3 separate regions of the Homo sapiens genome follow, and regions 2 and 3 are each linked to region 1. Evidence: promoter capture Hi-C in 16 types of primary human blood cells and fetal thymus (Javierre and others, 2016). All regions are on one chromosome and are shown on one strand. Each heading gives the region's core, a stretch centred on a gene start or on the middle of the fragment in contact. The rest is flanking DNA. Distances are from core to core; before and after follow the strand shown.

Evidence for each region. Contacts are between HindIII fragments. The CHiCAGO score rates a contact against its expected background, and 5 or more counts as called.
Region 2: a contact is called between a fragment that was not itself captured here and the fragment with the promoter of PARK7 in region 1, in 1 of 17 cell types (naive CD4 T cells). The highest score is 5.4, in naive CD4 T cells.
Region 3: a fragment that was not itself captured here is called in contact with the fragment with the promoter of PARK7 in region 1 in 10 of 17 cell types (naive CD4 T cells, M1 macrophages, endothelial precursors and 7 more); the score reaches 9.1 in naive CD4 T cells.

What each region holds. Positions count from the first base shown.
Region 1 is chr1:7,959,418-7,964,304 of GRCh38, reverse strand. It overlaps PARK7 (Parkinsonism associated deglycase), which reads right to left and starts at 2,594. Exons shown (of 7, transcript NM_007262.5): 1 at 2,512-2,594; 2 at 1,430-1,542. The coding sequence starts at 1,519. RefSeq lists enhancers at 2,154-2,213, 2,264-2,313, 2,514-2,563, 1,959-2,742, 2,944-3,043 and 1 more and a silencer at 2,694-2,793. The HindIII fragment of the contact is 27,976 bases long and covers 1-4,887 here.
Region 2 is chr1:8,380,307-8,385,193 of GRCh38, reverse strand. All of the region lies in intron 12 of RERE (arginine-glutamic acid dipeptide repeats), which reads left to right. Among named protein-coding and RNA genes, the nearest start is that of RERE-AS1, 42 kb to the left of the region's middle. The HindIII fragment of the contact is 3,368 bases long and covers 1,138-4,505 here.
Region 3 is chr1:8,360,778-8,365,664 of GRCh38, reverse strand. RERE (arginine-glutamic acid dipeptide repeats) reads left to right here. Exons shown (of 23, transcript NM_001042681.2): 14 at 827-919; 15 at 1,410-1,609; 16 at 2,821-2,982; 17 at 3,789-3,902; 18 at 4,175-4,887. Among named protein-coding and RNA genes, the nearest start is that of SLC45A1, 45 kb to the right of the region's middle. RefSeq lists an enhancer at 34-1,004. The HindIII fragment of the contact is 862 bases long and covers 3,207-4,068 here.

The DNA.
Region 1 (4,887 bases), core at 1,345-3,844:
TCAACTGTAAAATGAGGATGGTGATATCTAACTCACGACATTGTTGTAAGGTTTATCGGCACTTAGAATGCTGCCTGGCACAGAGTTAGTTCTACTTCACTTCACTGTTCACTATTTTTAGATAGAGAGAGATAATATATAAACACGCAAAATGAGAACCACGGTCAAATGCTACCTTAAAGACATGCGTGGGGGCGGGTGCAGTAGCTCACATCTGTAATCACAGCACTTTGGGAGGCCGAGGTGGGTGGATCACGAGGTCAAGAGTTCAAGACCAGCCTGGCCAAGATGGTGAAACCCCATCTACTAAAAATACAAAAAATTAGCCAGGCATGGTGGTGCGCACCTGTAATCCCAGCTACTTGGGAGGCTGAGGCAGAGAACTGCTTGAACCCAGGAGGCAGAAGTTGCAGTGAGCTGAGGTCACACCACTGCACTCCAGCCTGGGTGACAGAGCAAGACTCTGTCTTAAAAAAAAAAAAAAAGACACACATGCATGGATACACAAGAGTGCGAGGATAGCACTTATCTTTAAGGAAGGAAGAAGGGGCATAGGATTGGAGAAATTTACAAAGGGGGCTTCAAATGTATTTCTTTGAAGCATCTGCTCTTTAAGAAACGAGTCTGAGGGGCCGGGCATGGTGGCTCCTGCCTGTAATCCCAGCACTGTAAAAGGCTAAGGCGGGCGGGTCACTTGAAGCCAGGAGTTCGAGACCAACCTGGCCAACATGGTGAAACCCCATCTGTACTAAAAATACAATTAGCCGGGCGTGGTGGCGGACACCTGTAATCCCAGCTGAGGGTGAGGCAGGAGAATCTCTTGAACCCGGGAGGCAGAGGTTGCAGCGAGCAGAGATCACACCACTGCGTTCCAGGCTGAGCGACACAGAGAGACACCATCTCAAAAAAAAAAAAAAAGAAGAAAAAAGAAATGGGTCTAAGGACAGTGCAGTGGCTCACGCCTGTAGTCCTAACACTTTGGGAGGCCTGAGGCGGGTGGACAACTTGAGCTCAGGAGTTGGAGAGCAGCCTGGGCAACATGGCAAAACCCTGTCTCTACAAAACATACAAAAATTAGCCAGGTGTGGTGGCACGCATCTGTAGTCTCAGCTATTTGGGAGGCTGAGGTGGGAAGATGGTTTGGGCCCAGGAGGCAGAGACCGAAATGAGCCAAGATCCTGCCATCGCACTCCAGCCTGGACGACAGAGCTCAAAACAAAAGAGAAATGGGTCTGAAGGAAATATGGCAAGACATTAACAAGCGTTAAATGTGAGCAGTGGATCAACAGGTATTTATTCTTATGTCATCTCTGAAATTTTGTGTATATTTGAAATATTTCATAGAGCACTTTGAATATTTTATTCAAAATGATTTAAAAATCCAAAAACATTTAAAACAGGAATGGCTAAAAATCGATGTGGGACTTACCCCAGCTCGCCTCATGACATCTACAGGGATGACCGTCTCCATTTCCTCTGCTCCTTTAGCCAGGATGACCAGAGCTCTTTTGGAAGCCATTTTTATGTTATATGTTTACAAGCCTTAAAAAAAAAAAAAAAAAAAGATTTCAAAAAACTTTCATTGCAACCCTGAGATACCCCAAAATTTAAAGTTTAGGAGCATTTTCAAGCAGAGTAAGTACTTCCTAGGGAAACGGTTTTCATAGACAACTGAATACGAAAAAAGCAGCAGTTTAGTTATCTTAACGTTGATTTGTATAGCAGTTTTAATTGCTCTGAGATGAAAACATAATGAGGGTGCTAAAAGGTGTAGTATTGCTTAGATTTTCTTCTACCATGTTCTCTTAAATCCAACTTTAATAGTATGTTGCAAATGGGTTTTTTAAAAATACAAGTACGTGGGTCTCCTGCATTTCACACAATGCGGGGAAACAGTCTTTTTTGAAGCACTGTTTCAGAGAAACGACTAAACTGAATTTCATGGGCAAAAATTTAAATGTGGTCTTTCGCAATTAACTTGTAATTTTTTGGAGGGGATTTTTGTTTTCTTAGTTATAACTGTACTAAAAAATTGTGTGTGGGGGTCAACAGTGTTAAATGTCTGAACACTTTTTTTAATGACTGAGAAAGATGGAAATCCCCTCACTGAAGTCAACCCAACTACATCTGTCTCTCTGCGCGGAGTTCTCACTGCCAACGACAGCAGCTCAACGAGGTTCCGAATTTTTTTTAGCCTATTTACAGATTATCTGGAGGGTTTACCGTCCACGCAAAACAGAGTTTAATAAAACGGCTAGCCAGTTCCATGCCGGCGAGAGGTTAGGCAGAAGATTCTGGACGCTTCAGCGTTGCCACCACGCTGGCGGTCAGTCAAATCCAACGCCAGCGACAGGGCCCGACTGGGAGGCCGGAAGCGAGGGCGGCCCCGACCCAGGCCCCGCGCCGGTTCTGAGCCAGCGGGACACCGTCCAGCACAGGGACACCGTCCAGCACCCCCACGCCGCCCAGCGCCACGGCCCACACATGCGCCGCGCCCCCGCTGGCGCTGACCTGCACCCCGCGCCTCTTCCTGCGGACGCGGCGCCCCGGCCCGTTGGGTACCACTCACCCCACACCAGGCTGAAAATGAACGCACGCCAGCACGCACGCGCGCCGTCCGGCCTCCCTCAGCCCCACACTGCGCAGACTCACGCCGCCTTGGCCTCACGCTGCGTCACGTCCGGCCGAGTCTACCTCGGACTGAGGCGGGGGTGGCACCGGGGAGTTTCTAGCTGGACAGCCCTGGGTGAGGCGGCTCGGTCCCACATGGTACCCCCCACGAATGGCACAGTCCGGCCTGCCCCGGCGCCCGCGGGGCTTAACAGTCTCTACCGCCACCCTCCGTGAGGAGCCGGTCTCTGGAACTGCCGAGGGACTGGGGTTGTCAGAGGGGTTCCTTAGTTCGCGCTCCGTGCACGCCTGCTCCCTTTGCGTTGTTCCTTTTCTGGCGCGCCTTCCCGTTTCGCCTCTGGTCTGTTAGGACTCTGGTCCAGGCCTCCCGGACCTCTCCCCCACGCCTGGTCTCCCGATCTCGGGCGACTCTGCCGCATTTATTCACACCCGGATGTCTCAGGGGTGTGAGTTTTTTTCTCAGCATTGTTTGTTTTCTTTAACGATCCTGATGCTGCTGCACCCACAGGACTAGAGCAGTGCTGCGCACATAAGTCTAATAAGTACCAAGTTGGTCAGATGTATTTACATCATAATCTCAAGTTGTATTTATTGATATGTAAGAGACGTATGTGTTTTCTGGGTACATGTGGTATTTTGATACTTTCATATAATGTGTAATGATTAAATCAGGGTAAATGAGATCTCTATCACCTTAAACATTTGTCTTTATACTGGGAACATTCCAGTTACTCTCTTCAATAATAACATTTTAAAATATACAACAGATTACTGTTAACTATAGTCACCCTACAGAACTCTGCCAACGCTAGGTCTTATTCCCTCTTAAGGAGAGCACAGATCACCTGGTGACCATCAAGCAGGCCCCTTATCTGAGGAATTTAGAAGTAATTAGATATCCCTATTATCTAAAGTTGGCACCTGGTACCAGGTTAAATCAAAGGAAATAGTTAAAGCCCAAAATTCTTGAATGAGCTTAGAAGGATCCTGGCTAAATGAACGCAACTTGGATTGAATTTGCAAAAAATGAGACATTCGAAAAGGGACATGAAAAATCCACCGCGGCATGCTCAGTTCTCTCTTGCTGAGGCTGCACTCTTCTGCAGCGTTCTAATAAAACTTTCCTTTTTCAAACCTATATTGTTGTCGATAAATTCTTCTTACCAACCAGCAAGTCGACCACTTTCTGATGCTGGGGCTCTTGACACCTTGCCCAGCACTTCTACCAATTTTTGTACCTATTAATCACCCTGTTCATCCCCTTCTCCTGGCTACCCTTCCTGGCCTCTGGTAACCACCAACTTATCTTCATGATATCCACTTTTCAACTTCCCATTTATGAGTGAAATCATGTGATGCTTGTCTTTCTTTGCCTGGCTTGTTTCACTTAACATAATGACCTCCAGTTCCATCAATGTTGTTGCAAATAGGATTTTATTATTTTTTATGGCTGAATAGTATTCATTGTGTATATTTACATTTTATTTATCCAGTCATCCATTGATGAACATTTTGGTTGATTCCATATTTTGACTGTTGTGAACAGTGCTACAATAAGCATAGGAGTGCAAATATCTCTTTGATATATTGATTTTCTTTCTTTTTTTTTTTTTTTGAGACTCCATCTTGCTCTGTCGCCTAGCCTGAAGTGCAGTGGCACCATCTTGGCTCACTGCAACCTCTGCCTCTGTGTTGAAACAATTCTCGTGCCTCAGTCTTTCGAGTAGCTGAGACTACAGGTGTGTGCCACCATGCCTGGCTAATTTTTGTATTTTTAGTAGAGACAGGGTTTTACTATGTTGGCCAGGCTGGTCTTGAACTCCTGACCCCAAGTGATCTGCCTGCCTCGGCCTCCCAAAGTGCTGGGATTATAGGCGTGAGCTACCGTGCCTGGCCCTTCCTTTCTTTTTGGTATATACCGGTAGTGGGATTGCTGGATCATATGGTAGTTATGATTCCAGAACTTATGATTTCTCAGAAGTTAATCTTCTGAGGATTCCATATTGTTTTCCATAGTGGCTGCACTAATTGAGATGCTCGCCAACAGTGTATGAGGTTCCTTCTTCACATCCATCTCAGCATGTTATTCCCTTTTTGATAAAGGCCATTTTAACTGGGATGAGATGATATCTTACTGTCTTTATTTGCATTTCTCTGATTAGTGACATTGAGCCCTTTTTCATATCTCTTGGCCATTTGTATCTCTTCAGAAATGTCTATTCAGATCTTTTGCCCACTTTTAAATCTGATTGTTTT
Region 2 (4,887 bases), core at 1,572-4,071, 420 kb before region 1:
GTGAACATGTTAAATTCTAAGATACAATTAGAATAATTCAAGAGATGTATTTTCCTCGGTGCTTCCCATAAAGAACAGCATAGACCCAAGGCCATGCTTGACTCAGTCTTGCTAGGAATTCCAAGGAAGGAAGATGGAGGACACAGGACCTGTGGCTGGCAGAAATCGCCCTGCAGAGCTGCTTTTAGATGGGCCCAGAAGGAAGGTGCAAGCACGAGAGACTTGTTAGGTGCTGCCTTGAGTTCAATTTTAGATTGTCCTTGAAGTCAATGTGGTTGTTGCATCGGCTGAGAGCTGTGCCCATGACTGGCATGTTGATGGCCAGCTGTTGCCCTCTGCCACTCAGGAACGCTGGTCACATGCCACTGCCATTCCTGCCCACAGCAGGAGACAGAAAGTTTAGCTGGGAGTGAAAAACAAGTAGCCCAACCTCTTTATTAGTAGCCTTCTGGAACAGATGAGTAAGAGTGTACAGAACTGTTAATTGTCTGTAACTAGAGGGAGCAGAGAAAATGCCTTCAAAGCATCTGGTTGTGATGTCACAGCCTTCTGATCCAGATCATATGTGACAAGACTTTTTAAGTGATATTCATCAGTTCAGATATTCATCACTCCTATCTGGAGTTAGCATACAACCGCTCACCTTTGCTGTTACCTTAAGCAGATCTCATTTACCTCTTTATTTGCTGCTGTATGAGAGCACTGTTTAAATGATTGCTTGAGTTCCCAGGAGAGGATCCCTGCTCTTCTTATTAATGCCCCTTTAAGATACAGGTGTTTTAGTACCTCATGGCATCCAGAGAAGCATGTTCCTTTTCTGAGCACGTCAGCACATCTCTTTACCCCTACAGAGGGGACAGATTACAGAACTGACATTGTATCCCACAAGAAAAAACTAGGGCAGCAGGAACAGGATGCGCATGACTCAGGGAGAGACTGGACCTCCGTGCATCCCAGCTTACATGTTCCCAGTCACACAGCCTAGAGGGGTAGAGGGACAGCCACGATGTGGAATAAACAGTAAGACCCCGACCTGAGGAAGCAGTGGACCCAAGGAGGCTTTGGGGTGAGGCGGTTGATTGTACAACCTGTTCCCTATGCTCTTCTCAGCATCAGAAACACAGATTCTTTCAAGCTTAATTCTAAAGAGTCTTTAGACCTTTCTACTACGAGAGTTTGTAATCTAAGCCACTAATTTTCATTCTGGAGTTTGTGACACTCTAGTGAGCCCCACATTATCATAAGTGAATATTTTTAAAATTCGGCAATAGAATTCATTGTAGTTTGGCATACATTTTTATTTTATTTTATTTTATTTTATTTTATTTATTTTTTGAGACAGAGTCTCACTTTGTCACCCAGGCTGGAGTGCAGTGGCGCAATCTCAGCTCACTGCAACCTTCACCTCCCGGGCTCAAGCGATTCTCCTGCCTCAGCCTCCTAAGTAGCTGGGAGTACAGGTGCGTGCCACCACACCCGGCTAATTTTTGTATTTTTAGTAGAGATAAAGTTTCACCGTGTTGGTCAGGCTGGTCTCAAACTCCTGACCTCGTGATCCACCCACCTCAGCCTCCCAAAGTGCTGGGATTACAGGTATGAGCCACCGCACCTGGCCCTTGGGCATAAATTGTAACATAAGTGTATGTTCTTCGACACATTTAAGAGTGGAGTGATGGTGTCATAAAATTAAATAATGGGATGTTCTAAGTCCCTTAAGCTGGACCTTTCCAATCTGTGCATCAAAGCTAATTCTGCATTAAAGTGCAAGGACGGCTCACAAACCCCATAGTTGCCTGATATAGATTGGCAGGTGCATTCTCTTGGTTTCGTTTTTATTCCTGCTGAAATGTTTAATGATCTTGTGTGGCGTCATTCTGTTGCCGATTGTGTAAGAGAGAAGCTGGACCTGGGTGGAGACAGGCTTCTTAGGTGGCCTCAGTGGGCTGTTGGGCATTTATGGTTCTGCTGGTTGCAGCTGAGATCTTCAGACAGAATACTCTTCTCCTTGACCAGCGCTTATCTTTCAGATTGTGAACTAGGCCCAGACACCATTACCATTCACCATCTCTAACATTCTCTTATTCTTTGACTACATAAGGCACTGTCGTTCTAGGGGAAACATGATAGAGGAAGGAAGTTGGTTGCAGAAACCATTCTTTGAAAGACTTTTTTTTTTTTTTTAACTTAGTCAATTAAAATAGTCCTTTAAGGTGAACTTAGTTCTGAGTTTCTGGTCCTTTTCCCAGATGGAAAAGGATTTTCAAGAAAAAATCCTGTCACTTACTGAGCATGTGTGCCGGCTCCTTTTTGGCACTTCCATCCTCACCACAACCCTATAAAGGAGGGAGCTCGTGGCGAGGCAGCCCAGGTTTCTAGATAAGGAGAGTCTCGAGGAGGTTCCTTAACCTTCCTGTGGTGGTTTTTCTCCATTTTTAAAATGAAGAAACAGAGGCCAAGAGAGGTTAGGGAATTTGCTCAAGGTCGTGCAGCCAGTGGCAGCTGTTCTCACTCGGAGTTCTGAGAGAGGTAAGCCTCAGAAGCCGGGCATCCATTGTGTGTAACGTAGTAACGTCTTGCCTGTGCATCTAGAAAGGTACCTGTTATGTTCCGTTCATAGGAGAATTGAGAAAATATTAATAGTCACTTCATTTTAAGAACTCCAGTTGAAAAAGGCTAGACAGTCAATGTTTGTTCATTGTTTTTCTCCATTCTTCCCCAGCATGCGCGCTCTCTCATGCACACGCACGCATGCGCACGTGGCTGAGCCAAAGCCTAAGCTGCGAATTGAGTTTCGTTAATTCATGTGGAGGCAGCTGAGAGTGCCACCTGGTCCTGAAGAAATTGGGATACTTGTGGGCACAAAGGTGGACCTGAGATCACTGGAGCCAAGCTGGTGGAAGTGTTGACCACTGCCGTTGGCAGAGAGCTGTCATTACTGGTGCTTCAGGCCACAGCTCAGCAGGCTGTCCTTGTTCTGTTTTGTTAAGAGCCTAGCAGCATGGCTAGCTTGCAGGCATAATCCCAGAGCCTCTTGCTATCTGCCTGCAGGAAGTCTCTATGTGCTCCAGCACACTGAAGGAATTTGGTGCTCACTTTCTCCTGCTTTTGAGCTTTGGTCCTGTGTTATTACTAATCCTTAGAGGAAGATTTTGACTGTAACCACTTTCCTGAGTGCTCTTAAGGCAGGTCCAGAGGATTCTCACAGCGTGAAATGAGAAAACGCTCAGCCTCAGAAAAATGGAAGTTATTCTTTTAGTGCCAAAGTGTCATTGGACCACAGTGCAGCTTGGTTAATTCAGGTTAAGACTTAGCCCCTGGAACAGTGTCAAGCCAAGGCCTGTGTGGTTTCATCATAGATTTGTAAAACAAAAAACACGTGTGTTCTGGTAAATTCCAAGCGCACATTAGTGCATACGTGTATGTGCAGGAACACTCCCTGTAAGACTCTTGTTCTCATTTCACACTGGCGCGTCCCCGGGGCTGGGGAAATCATTTTCATTTTTGAGAGTAACCTTAACTAATTAAATGGATCAAGGGACTCTTTGTGTTTTGTTTTCATTTTGTTTTGTTTTTTACTTTAATGTACAGATAAATTAAGGGAAATAATAATTACCTTGAATAATTTTGATTCTCGTAACTAATTTTCCACCTATGTGTGTTTAGCTCAATTTTGAAATGGTTCACTGAAAGATTTCCAAATTTCTTATCACTGAAACTGAGTTATTTCACTTTTATGACTGTTAGTGACTCCTCTGTTTTATGTATTTCTGGTGCAGTATAATTCTTCTATGTCTGTGTGTCTGTGATAGATCTCAGTTCAAGTTAGCGTTTCCCGAGCACCCATCTTGTGTCAGGCACTCTGCTAATGATTGCGCAGGTTACAAGGTTTAGAGTGGCCACATCCCCTGTTCACTTGCAGTTTAGAGTCCAGTCGGAGGAAAGGGAGGAGGGGAATCATGTTATAGACATAACTTGATATCCTGCAGGACTCAGTGATGTATGAGCCACAAAAAGGTCACAGCTGAGTGAGAGAGTTGGTAATCATGGAAACAGGCGCATCGGAAACTCGCTTCCTATGGGTCAGTAAAGTGTGTATGAGGTGGTGTGGATGACAGCACATAGAGCTGGAGGGGTGGGCCAGCAGCAACCAGGAGAAGGCGTTCCAGGTGTCTGCACCCAAGGAGATCCTGGGGTCAGAGGCAGGACATGTGGGAAAAACCATTGGTCCCTTTTACCCAGGGAAGGACTCAAGAAGCCGAACGTGGTAGGAGATGGAGGCTCCCAAGCCCTGGCAGACGTTACAGCAGCGCTGAGCACTTTCAGGACCAGGACTCCAAGGTCCAGCTCTGGAACGCCCCTCTCTGCCCTGACTTTGGTTCCTTCATCAGCAGAGGGGCTCCTGGGCTATGGGCTCAAGTCTGAAGTCACCTTAAAGAGAAATCTCTACCTTTCTGTTCTCCTTCATTGCTGAGGATTTTGACTTGTGTTGAAAAGTTTCTGAAGCTTTCTGCAGCTGGAAAATCAAGCTTTTAAAAAAGCTCTTGATGGGCCAGGCTTGGTGGCTCACGCCTGTAATCCCAGCACTTTAGGAGGCCAAGGCAGGTGGATCACGAGATCAGGAGTTTGAGACTAGCCTGGTCAACATGGTGAAACGCCATCCCTACTAAAAATACAAAAATTAGCCAGGTGCGGTGGCACGTGCCTATAGTTCCAGCTGCTCAGGAGGTTGAGGGAGAAGAATCACTTAAACCCAGGAGGTGGAGGTTGCAGTGAGCTGAGACCATGCCACTGCACTCCAGCCTGGGCAACAGAGCAAGGCTCTGTTTTGTTTCGTTTAAAAAAAAAAAAAAAAAGCCTGTTGACTTTTGGGAGTTGTGTCTGGGACCT
Region 3 (4,887 bases), core at 2,388-4,887, 400 kb before region 1:
AACATAGACCGATGGTGGGGGCGGGGAGCAGGACAAGGATTCAGGAGGGAGACTTTAAAACATTATTTGTACATTTAAATATTTCTCATAAACTCAACATCATCTTAGGTTTTTACAAAAAATACACGTCTTGGCCTGGGATGTTTTTGGCCTTGTCCTGGGAAGGTTTTCCATTTGACAGATGATGTACTTGATGTCCTGCTTGAATTCTCATTGCACTTTTGGTTGTAAGAAGATCAGATTAACACTTTCTTCTTTTTCCTCCTGCTTCACCAAGATCCTCTTTTTGGTCCCAGTATGATGTACAATCTAATGATGCTGGAGCCCACACCTTCTCACCCCTAAAAAACTGGGGTGTAGCAAAAGTGCCTTATAGCTCTGTCCTGGCCCGGGACGCTGAACCTGAGGGGCGCCGGTGTTGCGCATGCAGGCGACTAGAAATCACCTAGCAGGACGGGTTGGGGGCGCTCGGTGAAGTTGGAATTTCTCAGGATTGCCTGGGCGTATTAGGGAGGGAGGCAGCATGGACGCGCTTGTCCCAGTTCAGACTCACCCGTTACGGGCATCAGTGGCAGGGCAGGCCCTTGGGTATGGCGCCTCACACACAGGCCCTCTGTCCTGGTGACTGACACTGAGGAGCTCGAAGTGGTCCTTTGCAGACACTGTCCTACCTCAGCCTGTGCACCCAGCCGCTCTGACTGGTGGCCAGAACCTGCAGTAGGCCAGAGGTCACAGGTGTTCCCCCCTCCCCCCCACCCCACCGGCCCAGCCTTGGCTGAGCATGATGGTGTCTCCCCCACCCCCACTATGTGCCTGCCACGCCCAGTGGACCTAAGTTCAGCCAGTGAAGATGACTTCGACAGTGAGGACAGTGAGCAGGAGCTGAAGGGGTACGCCTGCCGCCACTGCTTCACCACCAGTAAGTGGCCTCGTCACGCTCCTGGGGCGGGGCGGGGGCACAAGCACTTCCATGTTCTGAACATTTCATGCATCCAGCTGGAAACCTGCCAGGGACAGTACTTGATTTGACATTTGCATTGTGCTTCGGGATTCGAGAAAGTTAGAAATGTTTAGTTTACTTTACTCCTCTGCTTGGCAGTCGGTATGGAATACTGACTGGTAGGCAGGACAGATTGAGTGGGATTGGGGGGTTGACACTGTAGTTCCCAGGAGCTTGCTGCCAGCTTTTCCTGGGCACCCCAAGTTGAAGTGGGCAGCAGATGCCCCTGAAACCCTCTCCTGGCCTTGGGGGAGCAGGGCAGCACTAGCCCTGGGGTGTTGGGGCCCAGGGCTGCATGGTGCTGGTGGCATCAGGTTTGGGTAGAGCCCACAGAAGGGCCCCTCTGCCCAGACATCCCCAGGGAGAGGGATGGTTTCCAAGGTTGGCCCCCACCACTTCCCTCACACAGCCTCCAAAGATTGGCACCACGGAGGCCGGGAGAACATCCTGCTTTGCACCGACTGTCGCATCCACTTCAAGAAATACGGTGAGCTCCCGCCCATTGAGAAGCCCGTGGACCCGCCACCGTTTATGTTCAAACCCGTCAAGGAAGAGGATGATGGGCTCAGTGGGAAGCATAGCATGAGGACACGGCGGAGTCGGGGCTCGGTGAGTCCCCTGGGGCCATGGGGCTCCTGGCAACTTCTTCAGTTTCCTGGGATGTGTGGGGGCTTGAGCCTCCCAGGGGGAGGAAGCGAAAGTCTTGTTTACCAGACAAAGTCCTGGAGGGGAGCTGCTTTGCCCGAGGCGGTAGCTTGCCTGTGGGCTGGGAAGAGTTCTCTGTTCTCTCCTTCGAGGGGCCCCAGGGTGGCATCCTGCTCTGGGTTTTGTAGCAAGCTCTTAGCTTCTGGCTCAGTGCAGGCTCTCCAAGGCCCCTCTTGCTCTCCAAGGCTGCTGCTTGTGGTGTCACTTCCATTGTATCAAATCTCTGCTATTTTAAACTTGCAGGCTCTTTTGTGTTAGTGTGTTTGTGATTTTTTTTAAATGTTTGATCCCGTTTTGGAAACTTCCGATACATTTTTCTGCTCACTGCATAGCTCCTCCCATAAAGAGACTTTGTTTCCTAGGTTGGAAATGTGCCAGGGACTTTGGGAGAGGCTTTTTCCAGGTTTGGGGCTGAGGGTACTGACAGGGTCTTTCCCTTCAGCCTCCCTTATGGCCCCTTCTGGCAGGTGGGTGGGACCATCCACTTTCCTCTGCCCCTTGTATGCCGTTGAGGCTGCTGGCAGCCCGGCCCCCGCTCACTCAGAAGGGAGCAGGTCAACCAGCCAGAACCATTGTCTCCTGATCTCTTCTGAGCCCTCATGGCTTTGCAGAAACATGCTGAAGCGCTTGGCGGCTTGGGGAGCTGAGCTGCTTTACTTGACAGCTTCATCTCTTTGGGTCACTTCCTGTCCTGTCAGATTAAATCCACAAGTGTTTGATTTCATTTGGTTTGGTTGGGAGAATGGACGGTTATGAGGAATAAACAGAAAGGGTGTAGGGTGCTTTAAAGATGGCCCCAGGCGACTTTCTGCCGCTCAGAAAGTGTGGTTCATTTCCAGCACACGTTGTTCAGGACAGTCCCTTGGGATGAGTGCTTTAGGTTTGAGAACCGCCCTCTGGCGTGAGCCCACTGATTTCCCCACCTCTTCCCTGAGCTCCACACCGACCTTCATGCAGCCAGGGACAGGCAGGGCGGCCTGTTGTTTGCCAAGGTCTGGGATTTGCTGAGAGGCTGATAGGGTGTGCCTTCAGGCTTCTGCCTGTGGGTTGGGCTCAGGTGGGTCCACATGGGGACTGGGAATCTGGTGTCACCAGTCTTCGGTTTGGGTGGGCAGATGTCGACACTACGCAGTGGTCGGAAGAAGCAGCCAGCCAGCCCTGATGGTCGCACCTCACCCATCAATGAAGACATCCGCTCCAGCGGCCGGAACTCCCCCAGCGCTGCCAGTACCTCCAGCAATGACAGTAAAGCAGAGACAGTGAAGAAGTCGGCCAAGGTCAGGTGCTGGGGGGATAGTAGGGCCTACTCTGTCCCTCCCTCACATTAAAACTGGTTTGCTGGTATTCGTGATCAGCTCCCTCAGACACGAGGATGCAGCTCATTCATGGAGCCTGTCTGGACACCAGCATTGTCCTGGCCTAGGGGCTGCAGACCGAAGGCTGGGGGCCTAGAGAAGGGGGCTCGAGCACCAACTCTTGGGGGCCACCTCTGCCTCAAGCTTCCCAAGTTCTCAGAAAGTGTGGGGAGTGGTTAGAACGGCTCCCTCCAGAGCCAAGTACAGTCCTCCCTTGGTATCCATTAGAGATTGGCTCCAGAGCCTCCACCGCCCAGGATACCAAAATCCACAGGTGCTCAAATCTCATATACATCGACACATGGTTTGCATGTGACCAGTCACATCCTCCTGTAGACTCTAAATCATCCCTAGGTTACTTCTACTGCCCAGTGCAATGTAAATGCAGTTTAAACAGTGGTTCCACTGTCTAGTTCAGGAGATAATGACAAGAAAACATTGTGTGCACGTTCAGTATAGATGTAACCATCACAGTCCTGCCTACATTTTCAGTCCATGGTTGCTTGAATCTGAGGATGCAAACCCACAGGTGCAGAGGGCTGGCTCTCATTCCCACCCCCAGATACGTGTTCCTTCTTGGCCCCAGTTGACCCTTCTAGAGCTTTTTGCTCCTGGAGATGGAACTCAGAATGAGGGAGCAAAGTGTCTGCAAACCGTCATTTCCTTGCTGAGGCTGATGGGATGGTCTCCCTTGGCCTGATTGCTCCTTGTGGGCTTTTCCCCTGCAGAAGGTGAAGGAGGAAGCCTCTTCCCCTCTTAAGAGTAACAAACGCCAGCGGGAGAAGGTGGCCTCTGATACGGAGGAGGCTGACAGGACCAGCTCCAAGAAGACAAAAACGCAGGTGAGGTTTGCTGCTGAGCCTTGCTGAGTAAAGCTAATGCTTCTTCAGAAGCCCCCAGCCGGGGTTCTCCCTAGTTGGTGGCCGTGCCCTGTCTCCTAGGGTGGGGCTGGAGTGGCCTTTGACACTGGCTGGGTCAGGGCACGACCTGTGGTCCCGGAGCCAAGCTTGCTGCTTCATCTGCACAAACATTACTGTGTGTCCGGCACTGGTGGTGCAGAGCAGACAGGGCTCTGCCCTCCTGGGACTTCCATCCTTCCCTTCTCTGACTCCAGGAGATCAGCAGGCCCAACTCGCCATCTGAAGGTGAGGGAGAGAGTTCAGACAGTCGCAGCGTCAACGATGAGGGTAGCAGTGACCCCAAAGACATCGACCAGGACAATCGCAGCACGTCCCCGAGCATCCCCAGCCCCCAGGACAATGAGAGTGACTCGGACTCGTCAGCCCAGCAGCAGATGCTGCAGGCCCAGCCCCCAGCCTTGCAGGCTCCCACTGGGGTCACCCCAGCTCCCTCCTCAGCTCCTCCAGGGACCCCTCAGCTGCCCACGCCAGGGCCCACGCCCTCTGCCACTGCAGTTCCCCCACAGGGCTCCCCCACGGCCTCCCAGGCCCCTAACCAGCCACAGGCTCCCACAGCGCCTGTTCCCCACACCCACATCCAACAGGCACCGGCCTTGCACCCCCAGCGGCCGCCCTCACCGCATCCCCCGCCGCATCCCTCGCCACATCCCCCGCTGCAGCCTCTGACTGGGTCGGCGGGCCAGCCTTCTGCACCCTCTCATGCCCAGCCCCCACTGCACGGTCAGGGCCCACCCGGCCCTCACAGCCTGCAGGCTGGGCCCCTGCTGCAGCACCCAGGCCCCCCACAGCCCTTTGGCCTCCCTCCCCAGGCCTCCCAAGGCCAGGCCCCTCTGGGGACCTCCCCAGCAGCAGCGTACCCTCACACCTCCCTGCAGCTGCCAGCCTCTCAGTCAGCGCTGCAGTCCCA